Linked DNA regions of Homo sapiens: region 1 is linked to region 2. Evidence: promoter capture Hi-C in human tissues and cell types (Jung and others, 2019). All regions are on one chromosome and are shown on one strand. Each heading gives the region's core, a stretch centred on a gene start or on the middle of the fragment in contact. The rest is flanking DNA. Distances are from core to core; before and after follow the strand shown.

Region 1 (6,318 bases), core at 3,503-6,002, 340 kb before region 2:
CCCATCTCTACTAAAGATACAAAAAAATTAGCTGGGCGTGGGGGCGCATGCCTGTAATCCCTGCTACTCAGGAGGCTGAGGCAGGAGAATCACTTGAACCTGGGAGACAGAGGTTGCAGTGAGCTGAGCTCGCGCCACTGCAATCCAGCCTGGGTGACAGAATGAGATTCTGCTTCCAAAAAAAAAAAAAAAGTTGCTATTTTAAAATTTCTTTTACTTCTGATCATTTCCCCTTTCACTGAATGTTTTATTTGCATATTCTCTTTTATCTTTGATTAATCTTGTCAAAGATTTGTCTAATATTAATAATTATTTTAAAAACCATTTTTTGGAAGTTTTCAATTTGATCTCTATTTTAGTATTTATTATTTATTTTCTTCATTTTTCTTTCTTATTTGTTTTTTTTCTATCTTGTAAAATAGAATATTTATTTTCTATTCTATAGATCAAAGCTGTACATTTTCATCTGCATATTGATTTAGTTCTGTCCAATAAATCTTGACCTTTACGACCTTCATCTATTTTTAGTTTTCTTTCTGCATAGTTTTGTTTTAAATATTTCTGTCATAGAAACATATTTCTCTAATCTGAGAGTTTCTTTTGACTGGTGCAGCCTGGTTACATTTATTGTAATTACAACAGAATTTACTTAATCCTATTTTAAGATTTATTTAATCTTATTTTATGTTTTCAATGTATCATATATTTTTGGAGGTTTTATACTCCATTGCTAATTTTCATTGAATAAATCAATATATTTTTCTGATGGTTTGAAAGTTACACATTGCGGGTCAAGCGTGGGGGCTCACGCCTGTAATCCCACCACTTTCAGATACTGAGGCAGGTGGATTGCTTGATTGCCCCACTGCACTCCAGCCTGAGTGACAGAGTGAGACTTTGTCTCAAAAAGAAAAAAAAAAAAGAAAAAGAAAAGAAAAGAAAGTTACACATTCTGGAGTTAACAGCTGTACTGGTGTCTCTTTGATTTCATCATTTTCTGACTGTAGTAGAAGCCAGTTCCTAGCTAACTCAGCTCTGTCATATGGTTCTAGGAAGTTTTTCCTGAAAGTTCAACTTTGAAGCTGTTTCAGCAACCTTCCCAATAACTGAGCAACCTATAGCCCTTAAAAATCCCTTTTTATTTAAACTAGCTTGAGTGGACTCTGTTATGCAACCAAAGTCTTTACTTGGTCAGAAAGATAGTTTTCATCTCAATTCCTTTAATGAATATTCATCCATTTGGGATTTCTGTGTTTAAATACAAGTGATATTTGCTTATAATTTTATTCTTTTAAAATCTCTTCTATTTATAATTATTCTTTTCATAGTATATTTTGTTTATTTACATGTTCTCTTTTATTTTTGGTAAGTCTTGTCGAAGACTTGTCTAATCAGCATCCTAACAAGTATCTTAGCATGTTCTCATATCCTTCTGATATCTTTATTACTATCTTGTAAATATATTACTATCATCAATAGCTTTAGTTCTATTTTTTTTTTTTTTTTTTTTCTGAGATGGAGTTTCACTTTGTTGTCCAGGCTGGAGTGCAGTGGCACAATCTCAGCTCCCTGCAACCTCTGCCTCCTGGATTCAAGTGATTCTCCCACCTCAGCCTCCCAAGTAGCTGGGATTACAGGCACCTATTCCCAGCTAATTTCTATATTTTTAGTAGAGATGGGGTTTTACCATGTTGGCCAGGCTGGTATCCAACTCCTGATCACAGGTGATCGATCCATCCACCTTGGCCTCCCAAAGTGCTGGGATTACAGACATGAGCCACAGCACCCGGCCTAGTTCTAAATTTGTAATGGTTTTTTTTTCCTTATATGTTATTTATCTGCTACCACAACAATCTAAGTAATAAACACACAAAAAATCTCAGTGCCATACAAAAATAAACATTCAGTTTTGCTCACAAGTCTATGAAGTTAGCTGAGCAGATCTACTGATCTGACCTGGGATGGGTAAGGCACACTCATTCATCTGAGATTAGCTACAGGTCAGCTAGAAGTCTTCCAATATCTTGACTGCCTCCTTTACATGTTTGGAGCCTACCTGGGACAACTGGGCTGACTCAGCTCTGCCTGACATGATCTATAGTCTTCCAATACACTACAGTGGACTTGTTTTTGTGGTGGTAGAGAGGGTGCAGAGGTATTCAGGCCCCCTGAAGCTTTGGCTTAGAACTGGCATACCATCACTTTTTGCCACATTCTAATGGTCAAAGCAAGTCACAAAGCCAACCCAGATTCAAAGGGTGAGAAAGTAGACCCTACTTCTTGATTAGAGGAACTGCAAAGTCACATTGCAAAAGCCACAGACACAGAGAGGGGTGGGAAGTCAGGGTTACCCTTACAATCACTCCATTGTTTCAGTTATCTACTGCTTTGTAACAAAGCACCCCAAAATATAGCAGCCTAGGATAAAACCTTATTATTATCTCTTATGATTCTACATTATGGCCAGATTTAGATAAGCAGTTCTCACTTGGGTCTTTAATTCAGTTGCAGCCAGATGATGGCTGGGGCTGAAGTCATCAGAAGGCTCAATGCAACAGAGCATCCACGACAGTTCCCTTAGCCACATGTCTGGTGGCCTCAGCTGAGATGACTGAAATATCTGGGGACTGGCTTCCACGTGGCCTGTCCACGTTGCTAGTTTGGACAGTTTCAGCATAACAGTCTCAGGATATTCAAAATTCTTACATGGCTGCTTGTTTTCACCACAGTAAGCATTCCAAGATCCCAGCCCCAAAAGTCACACAGTGTCTCTTCTGCCACACTCTACTGCTTACACAGGGCCAGCACTGATTCAATAGAAAAGACTGCATGAAGCTTTGGACACTGGAAGGTATTCGTGGGCATCATACATAGGTATGTGTGTAATATCATGTGTGTGTGATACCATCTTCAGCTTAGGTTCTGAATTTGTAGTTAATTTTTATTCTTTCCGATATAAATAAATATATGTGTACATGATGCTGTTTTGTAGACAATATATTTTACTTATTTCCTATATCTACTGAAGTATTGAGTTTACTTTCCTTCTTGTCAGACTATGTATTTCTTTAAACAGTTCTCAAAGTGGATGTTTTTGAGGCTTTGCATGACTAAGAATATCGTTATTTCTTACTCACATTTAATTTTTTGAAGTTCCCTTTCTTCAATACTTTGCATCCAGTGTTGCTATTGAAACACTTCTCTAAGTGATTATACTAAGTTTTCCTTATTATATACTTTATCCACTCCCTTCTAATGCACACCCTCAAGTGATGTCACCCCTCAAGGAACCTATATTTCCTGCGCAGGCTCTCTTCTTTTCCAACAGCTGCCTCAGTGATAACCCAGTTCTTGAAGTGGACAATGGAGAAAGGAGGCAGCATCCAGGCTCCAGCTCAAGGCTGCACCTGCTTTTATCCACCCCTACTCATGCCCAGACCACAAGCTTCATAGTATCCTGCAGTCTCCAGTTAAGAGCTGGCCCTGCCACTGTCCTCGTCACAGTGGCTGTGGGAAAGGCAATGTCTCACTCAGGGAAAGATGGGGCACAACAAGAACACCTCCCAGGCTGCTTCCATTCCAAGCTACCTTCAGTATCAACCTCCATCATTTACCCTCTCCCCACATCTATCATTTACCTTCTCCCCACAACCATCACCTCCACCTCCTCAGGCTGTTCTCACAATGTCGGTTCTGATATATGACATCACTCCTCTTGGCTCCAGGTCATCCTCAGAGCAGAGATCATGTTATTTTGCCATCTGATCAGAAACTACATGTCCCATGACCCAGAGTCTTCAATTCATTTTAAGATAACACAATATCGTATTAAAATGTAGGGTTGAAATTAGAACATGCCAAACTTAAGAACATATTTGAAATGAGTTTTGTTTTCAGTAAACTCTAAAAATTTTCATTAGATGTTTTACTTTATATAATTACCTAGTTTTAAAAACTGAAGTAAAATGAATAAAGCAGCATTTGTTATACATGATAATTTTCTAAGATTGTTTAATCAATAAAGAATAAAAAAGTACCATTACAAATGTATTGATCTTGGTAAAACAGAAGAACACAAATGTCTTGTTATAAACTGTTGGATGCATTCCCTTGTTTCCCTTGTTCCAGAACATTTGGCATTCTTTGTCAACTAGTACATAAAAGAATAGAAAAGCAAATGTCTCTCATATTTCCTTTACACTACTATATTAATAAATCAGAAAGATAGTCCACTAGAAAGAATAAATGGCTTCAATTATAAGCCATATATAAGTAATGGATCTGGCCATGCATGAGAAAACAGTTTTTCCTTTTATACTCACGCCATTCTCAATATCTCACTTCTGACACCAGATCTATGGTGTTTTTCCCACTTGATCTATTATCCAACACCAGCTGGGTGTTTAACAATTCAATTCCCATTCTGACACTATCTCAAGTTAGTGCAGAACTCACAGGTTAAGGACCTCCCACAAGACTCTACCCCTACTGCAGATGCCAATGATAAGTAGTAGGTTTCCTGATTACCCACAACTCCTGTACAACTTGGCTACAAACTGGAAGTTCTGAGACCTCCTTGGGCTCGATAGTTTGCTAGAGCAACTCACAGAACACAGAGAAACACTTGTGTTTCCTGGCTTATTATATAATAATGGATATGATAAAGAATACAGATAAACAGCCAGATGAAGGTTCTTGGGGCAAGGTCTGCAGGGTCCCAAGCACAGCAGCTTCTATTGCCATGGAGTAGGGGTATGCCACCTTCTGGCATATGGATGTGTTCACCACCCTAAGAATTCCTCAAACCCTGTCATTTGGGGATTTTGAAGGGGCTTCATCATGTAGACATGATCAATTATTAACTAAATCTTCAACTCCTCTTACCTCTTCAGAGTAGGGGGTTGGGGTTGAAAGTTCCAGGCTTCTAATTATGGCTTGGTCTTTCTGGTGACTAGTCCCCATGCAGGAGCCCACCAAAAGTGGCTCTCATCACCCTGAAAATTCCAAGGTATTTAGGAGCTCCGTATCACGAATTGGGTAAAAGGCAAAAAAATGAGAACAAAAGATGCACCTAGCATCCCTATCACTCAGGAAATAACCAATGTTTAGGAGCTCTGGCCAGGAGCGGAGAACAAGACCAATATACACATATGTCTTATTACATCAAAAAATCACAGGCTAAAAGCAAAGTTTTCTTGTTTTGTTCAACCTATGTCAATCTTTGAAGTCACTCACAGTTGAACATTTTAATTTTCTTGTTTCAAGTGCTATCTATAAATTTTATTATTTTCAATATTGAATATTTCTATTTGTTAAATTCACTCAAATCACAGCCCTCTTGCTGTTCAGGGTTTTTTTGTTTTGTTATTGTTCTTTCTTTTCATGTAATAAATGATTTGTTAAGGTCATCATTTTTGCTTGTGACTTTATTTTGAAACCTTTTTTGCAGTTGAAAGTACATATTTTTGGCTGATATTGAATTGGGAGCACACAAACCAAGCACAACATTATGGTCTTTCTCTCCATATTCTTAAATATAAGAATGTATATAAATATTTATATCTTTGTGTTCTAAGAGTTTGGCATGTATAGCAGTACTTTTGCCATCTGTTTATTTTGGATGTTATTGACATGAATCTACAGTAAAAAATTCACCAATGGAATCTCTTCTATTAGTACATTTTTCAACTGAAATACCATACATATACTTGAAGAACATTCTTGAACTGCTACATTTGAAATACTTTCTTTCCACCTTACCTGAACTTTTAGAAAAATTTCTTTCTTTTTTTCTTTTTCTTTTCTTTTTTTTTTTTTTTTTTTTTTTTTTTTTGAGAGAGAGTCTCATTCTGTCGCCCAGTCTGGAGTGCAGTGGCGTGATCTCAGCTCACTGCAACCTCTGCCTCAGCCTCCCAAGCAGTTGGGATTACAGGCGCCCGCTACCAAGCCCGGCTAATTTTTTTGTATTTTTAGTAGAGACGGGGTTTCACCATGTGGGCCAGGCTGGCCTTGAACTCCTGACCTTAGGTAATCCACCCACCTCAGCCTCCCAAGATTACAGGTGTGAGCCACTGTGCCCAGCCTAAGAATTTCTTAAGCATGGGTTTTGAAGGAGACCTTCAAAAGCAATAGCGTAGTTCATGACTATTGCATTCCTTCAATTTTTTTTTTTTTTTTTTTTTTGAGACAGGGTCTCTCTCTGTTGCCCAGGCTGGAGTGCAGTGGTGCGATCTTGGTTCACTGCAACCTCTGCCTCCTGGGTTCAAGCAATTCTCCTACCTCAGTCTCCTGACTAGCTGGGACTACAGGCGCCCCACC
Region 2 (6,130 bases), core at 349-2,848:
AGTGAGCCGAGATCGCACCACTGCACTCCAGCCTGGGCGACAGAGCCAGACTCCGTCTCAAAAAAGAAAAAAAGAAAAAGAAAATGACCAGCTTGAGAAAACTGGCTTCTGTTAAGGCTTCTTGAAGCATTCTCTGCAGAAGACTTTAACCCCAAAGGTGACCAAAACGCTGAGGCAACTGAAAAAAACTACCGCCTCTTCTGGGAAATCCTTTGTTTCTTTTCATTGGCATTATACTCTGGTCCCTTTTGCAGAGCATCTCCTTGTCATAAACATGCCAATAAACAGGACATGGGTGCTGCTGGGTTGTACAAGCTCTGCTCTTCACCTGGGTTAGGAGGCACAGATTTGTTCTTGTAACGCTCGAGAACAATCACTTCACTGAATTTTCTAACTCCTTACCAGGAAGTAAATGTTTTATTCGTCTCCCCTTTTCGGGACAGAGGGGGATTTCAATTGCTGCCCTAATAACTAATCTCTCACCATTTTCTTCTGTCCGTGATCAAAACGGTAACAAGGGAAGGGAAAAGTTGGGTTTTTTTTTTTAATTTAGTTGGTTATTGCTTTAATGCTGAACTCTCAACGTCAAAATGTGATCACAAATTGATTCGCAGAAGGAAACAAATAGAAAAAGCCTCGGGAAGGAGGGGAGAGGGCGTCGCAGACGCTCAACAGGGAACTGGGTTTAGGGGCTCGCGGGGTGGCGTCTCGGACCCGCAGCTCAGTCGCCAAGGAAACGCCGCGCAGGCGCAGAGCGTGCCGCCGCGGGGCCGGGGTTTGCCTCCACCACCCCGCGCCGCTCGGGCGCTCTTGGTTCTTCCCAGGAAAGGGCAATGGAGTATATCCTCCTCGCGCTGAGCACACCTAGTCTCTAAGAGGTCCTGAGCAGGGTCACCGGGCGCAGGAAAAGCTGTGAGACTCCCCAAGTGTAACGGACGCTGCACTCCCCTTGCTGGGAAACGCGGACCTGCTCTCCTGGCGGCGTCTGGCGGTCAGAGAGAGGGTCCCGGGACCCCGCGTGAGGGTGAAGCATCCTGCAGCGAGGCTGGACCTTCCACCGGGCGAAACGCCACCCACCACCACCGCAAGGGACCCGAGAGTTACATTATTTCGCGGACACACACACCCACCCTCATCCTTCTGAATTATGGGACCCTGAAGAGCGGCCGTGGCCAGTTCCCCGCACGGGGCCTTAGGGGATCCCCACGCACAGCACTCACAGTCCTAAACAGGCGTGTGCCGGCTGTGGCTGCCGAGAAAGGAACTTGGGCCACCTGCTCACTCGCTCATCGGACTGGCGTACCAGTTCTCTTTTTCCTGCACACCCCCTTCTCTCCTGGGCCCCTTCTTCCCCCGAAAGCACTGACCTCCTCAGCTTTGAGTGTTCAGTAGCTGAAGGACTCCTCGGAGTCCGTGGCACAAGGAGCCACCTCCGAAGTGCTGGGGTGATGAGTTATTGGCCCCTGTGACTCCAACTCCAAACCCCTGCCAAGGGCCAGAAAAGCCCCCCTAGAAGAGCACTTCTCCCCACTAGCCAGCAGAAGCCCCAGACGAGCGGGGAAGAGCAGGGCGCCGCCGCCACAACCTGCTTTCTCATTCAAATCCTCACGCTCACACAGGAGCCCCCCTCCCTCTCGGCCCCGCAGCTTCCGAGGAAATCAGGAACTGGAGTTGCGGAGAGCGGACTGGAGCGCCTGCTGCCTCCTCTGGCCCGGGCGGGATGGGTGTACGGAACCCTAGGGCTGCACGTGGAACCCCAAGGCTGCACCTGGAACCCTTGGCTTACACTCTCCTGCGGGGCTCCCCGCTTGGCAAGGGCCAGAAGCACTGGGAATGAAGTACTTTTACTCCCCCGCAAGTTTCAAAAGTTTCGAAACCCAGGGTAACCCCTCGGGGCTGTAGCCAGAGGGCCTCGGTGGTGGGGGGTAAAGGAGTTGGAGAAACAAAGTTGGAAGTGAAGGGCGCAGGGAATGGGAACTGCGTGCAACTTGCACCAAAGTGAAAAGTGTTCTCAAACGTCCGTCTTACCTCCTTTAAAAAAAAAAAATTTCTAAGAATATAGCATCTGTCGATGCCGCAAATTAAAGAGATCTACTCTGAGTGAATGGGAACTGCGTGCAACTTGCACCAAAGTAAAAAGTGTTCTCAAACGCCCGTCTTACCTCCTTTAAAAAAAAAAAATTTCTAAGAATATAGCATCTGTCGATGCCGCAAATTAAAGAGATCTACTCTGAGTGAAGTGCAACTAAAATTGAGAGCGTGTAAATGGTAACACTTTGCTTTTATTTACCCCCAGTCTCTTCATTTGGAAATGCTACTCCTTGGCATTAACAGGCCACTTATTCACTTAGATCCGTTTAGTGGCTGGTTGACTCAAGCGGGCAACCTGCCGGGAGTAAGAAGGCGGCGGTGGCAGAGGAAAGCTTGCACGAAGCAGGCACTCAAGTGTTGATGAAACGATGAAATCTACTGAATGCACTGAAAGGATGAGTGACCAGCTTGGGGCGGATGCTGGAACCGCCGCTGGCCTAGACGGCCGCGGTGTGATCCGGCTTCTGGATTCCAGGATTTACATTTATCAGCCTTCATTCAACCTGCCCTATTGTTAGTTCAAAGCCTGGCTGGGAAGGAGTGGGGACGCAGCTCTTCACTCACCTTTCAGTTTAAAATAATCCTCCAATAAGAATGTCCTAGGAAAGCTGGCAGCATGGGGTTGGCAGGGATTTTCTGGGCTTAGTGACAACATAAACTAAAGTCATTTTCTTTTTTCATGCGTGAATTTGCCCAGGAAGTTACAAACGAGTAAGTTACAAATGAGTGCCTGAGATTGGAGCTCAGGGCCTTGGCTGCCTGTTCTCTTTGACAGACAGTGTGGAGGGTGGTAGCACTGTGACCTCTCAGCGCAAGATCTAGGGTTTCACCTTTTCATCCCACTTAGCCGATACCATAGAAACAACCCATTTGTATTATTCAATTCAACAGAGGCAATTACAATGTCACAGCAAAGCACCATGGGCAAGAAGAAACTTTGTCCTGAAAACAATCCTAGACTCTCAGAAAAAAGAAAAAAGCCACCAGAATACCCACTTGAATTTCTTCCTGCCAATAGTACCAGGAAGAAATCAATTTGGAAAAAATGTAGGTAAGGTCCTTTGCCTCTATAGAAAGAAACCTCCCCAAATTTACTTGTTTTTGTTTTTGTTTTTTTGCATGCCCATACACAAGCCTCAATTTATAAGAAATTAAGTCATTAACCCTCTGCCTCCAAACTGCTTTATATTTTGTAAACAAGCTTGTTGGAGATTTGTTTTGCTGGTAACCTCCATGGTGAATAGAAAAGCCAAAAAAAAAAAAAAAAAAAAAAAAACCACCAAGATAATCCCTCAACAGCAGCAGTTCACCCCCTAACCTCCGGTGTTTGTCTTTCTTGAGTCTGAAAAAATGCAGATGCACATGTTGAAATAAACTCAGACACAAAGTTCATAATAAGAGCACTTGTTTGCTATGCATTCTTTATTTTGATAGTTTTAATCAACTCCCATAATTTTGTAAACTTTTAAATTTTTAAATTGTGTGATATTTCAAACCTACCAAAAACAGGATATATACCATGTAATACTCCTGCTCCCCCCAGCCCTTCTTTTTTAAATAAAGCATTACAGATATAGCTAAACCCCAACTCCTGACTCGTTACCCCCACCCCTTCCCAAAGGTAATAATTCTGAAGTTGGTATGAATCATAATTATGCATGTTCTTAAATGTTTAGGACATTTATACATCCATAATCTTTTAATGTAGCTTTTCTCTCCAAGTCGTTTTAACATTATTTATCTGAGAAAAATCACTAAAACAATTAATTAATTAATTGGAGAAAATCACTAAAAACAAGAAAATGTGTTACATTGCTAAGTTTTTAGAAGCAGGACAGAACTATTTTTCCTGCTTGTGACAATCAGAGTATGGAATAATAACAAAGGGATTAGACAGTGGGTAATAAGCAGCCTCTCTAGGTTACACAAACTCTTCCATGGTTACCAAAGAATAAATAGAAAAACAAAACAAATAATACCCTCCTCTTTCACTGGTTAAAGGGGAACTGGAGAAAATGAGATCTTCATTAAAACTTCTTTGGGCAGGTAAGACAAACATCCTACATGGTAGTAAAGTACCTTTTCTAGAGGATCTCTTGGTCATGCAAGCTATGATCTTTTAGTAAGGATTTACCACTTTTCCAAGTATAAAGAACTCCTGCTGGTAGCTCAATACAAGGTTGAAATCCGCCTGGCTGAAAAGTCTGGGGTTGAATTAGCCCTGCCTCTTCAAGCACAGGGACATCCATCTGTACAGTAGTTACAAAAATCTTTTGCTGTGATTCTTTGACTTAATGTCCTCCCAGCATTAAAAGTGCTAAGAAAGCATCAATTTTTCTTAAATGCCATTGAATGGTGAAAGGCATCCTTCCCAACCCCCACCCTCTTCATTTCCTAAGCGATGACTCTCATTAATTATACTGGCACACCACTGCCCAGCCTCCCTTCTAAATAGCTGCCAGATTTCTACATATCATCTCTGCCTTGATACAGAATGTGCACTGACACCAGGATCACAGAAAATCCTGTAAGAGGTGCCTGATACACAGTAAAATGATTGATGTGCCTTGTGGTGAGCCTGCTGTGCTGCGTATCGTAGGGGGTTTCTTAGAAAACTGCACTGGGAATTTCTGTGTTGGAAAAAGATTTTTCTAGCTGTGCAAAAATTGTGCTTCCAGTTGCAAAAAGAGCCATTTATTTAAGGTGTTCAAATTTAAACAGCAACCATCTTGAGTTATATCCACGAGCAAGAGAGGAAAGGAGATAAATGTTCCCTATTTTAATCAATGCACCAAGTTAAGAAAACCATTGACCAAAAAAGCGTATCAAGGAAGAGGCACTCCTCTTTCAACACATATTTCTTTAGTACTTGCCATGTACCAGGCACTGCTCTAGGTGGTAAGCCTTAGCTGGAATATAGATAGCACTCCTGAAGTAGAGCGTAGTACCTGTCTTTATGGCCCTACTCTACAAATTGGTCACGGCTTTTAGGTACAAATAACAAAACCCCTTATCAAACCAGCTTGAGTAAAAAAAGCTGATGTATTGACTCCCACTTTAAGATAGGGGGAAGGATAAGGACTTCAGAAACGGTGGGAGTCTAGCAATTCAGAATCAGCATTTCTCTTGTTAAAGAAAAAATTAGTCAGTGTTAAAGCATGGTAAGGAAGGCTTTATCCAGCACGATCGAAATCGGCACAGGGACTACTGCAAGGAGCTCATGCAGAATACAGCATAGGCAGCTTGGAATTTATAGACAAAGAACAGATGGGGTTGCTGGATGAAAAATCACTAAGAGGAAACATCAGGAATATGAGGAACTCTAGCTAACCCGACATAACTGGATTCTTGCTGAACACAGGCCAGGGAGATCAGACATGACCTGGGCAATAGTGGAGGATGAGGGATCTGATCAGATATTGAGAATGATCAGATATGGAGAGTGGGGGTTCTTGCTAAACTGACTTGGCAGAACTCTTTTCTAAAACTGAGTTTTACAAGAAAACGCACATATGGGCCCAGGAGAAGGCTCAGAAGCATGACTAATGTTTGTTTGGCCAAGCAAGGAATTTTTGTCACTCTCACACTTTCACCTTTGCTCCTACTATTTCCCTGTCTCTGCTTTTCTCAGTGTTTTGATCCTATTCTCTCCTATTCCATATGAGCTTTCTGTACAAGCTGGGGGTGGGGAGAGCATGACTAGAGACAGCTCCAGGTTTCAATCGTCTCAGCTAGAGAGGCCTTTTTGCTTTTACCATCTGTAAATAAGATGGTAGGAAAGGATTCGAACTGACCTGACTTAGGTCATGTGTCCATCCATAGGTCAATTACTGTGGACAACAATAAGTAGAGTATATGTGTGGCCAGATCCTGATTATACACACACCCTTATGGCCAGGAAGGCGGGGTATTATAAGTAGCAGCCCATCAGAACTGCTTGGAACCAGGGAGGATTTGTTCCCAAGATGAAAGGGGCTGGTCCTACCAAGTGAAGGCAGGAAGAGATTCTGGCAAATAAAAAGAATAGATATGGGCTGGG

What was found. The method cuts DNA at HindIII sites, captures the fragments that hold promoters and counts their contacts. A contact is called where the count stands out against the background at its distance.
Region 1: a fragment that was not itself captured here is called in contact with the fragment with the promoter of PLCH1 in region 2 in 1 of the 25 tissues and cell types used here (H1 embryonic stem cells).

What each region holds. Positions count from the first base shown.
Region 1 is chr3:155,397,234-155,403,551 of GRCh38, forward strand. It overlaps the pseudogene DTWD1P2. Among named protein-coding and RNA genes, the nearest start is that of PLCH1-AS1, 49 kb to the right of the region's middle. The HindIII fragment of the contact is 4,496 bases long and covers 2,505-6,318 here.
Region 2 is chr3:155,743,473-155,749,602 of GRCh38, forward strand. It overlaps PLCH1 (phospholipase C eta 1), which reads right to left and starts at 1,599. Exons shown (of 23, transcript NM_014996.4): 1 at 1,368-1,599. RefSeq lists enhancers at 836-1,457, 1,352-1,561. The HindIII fragment of the contact is 7,162 bases long and covers 1-2,857 here.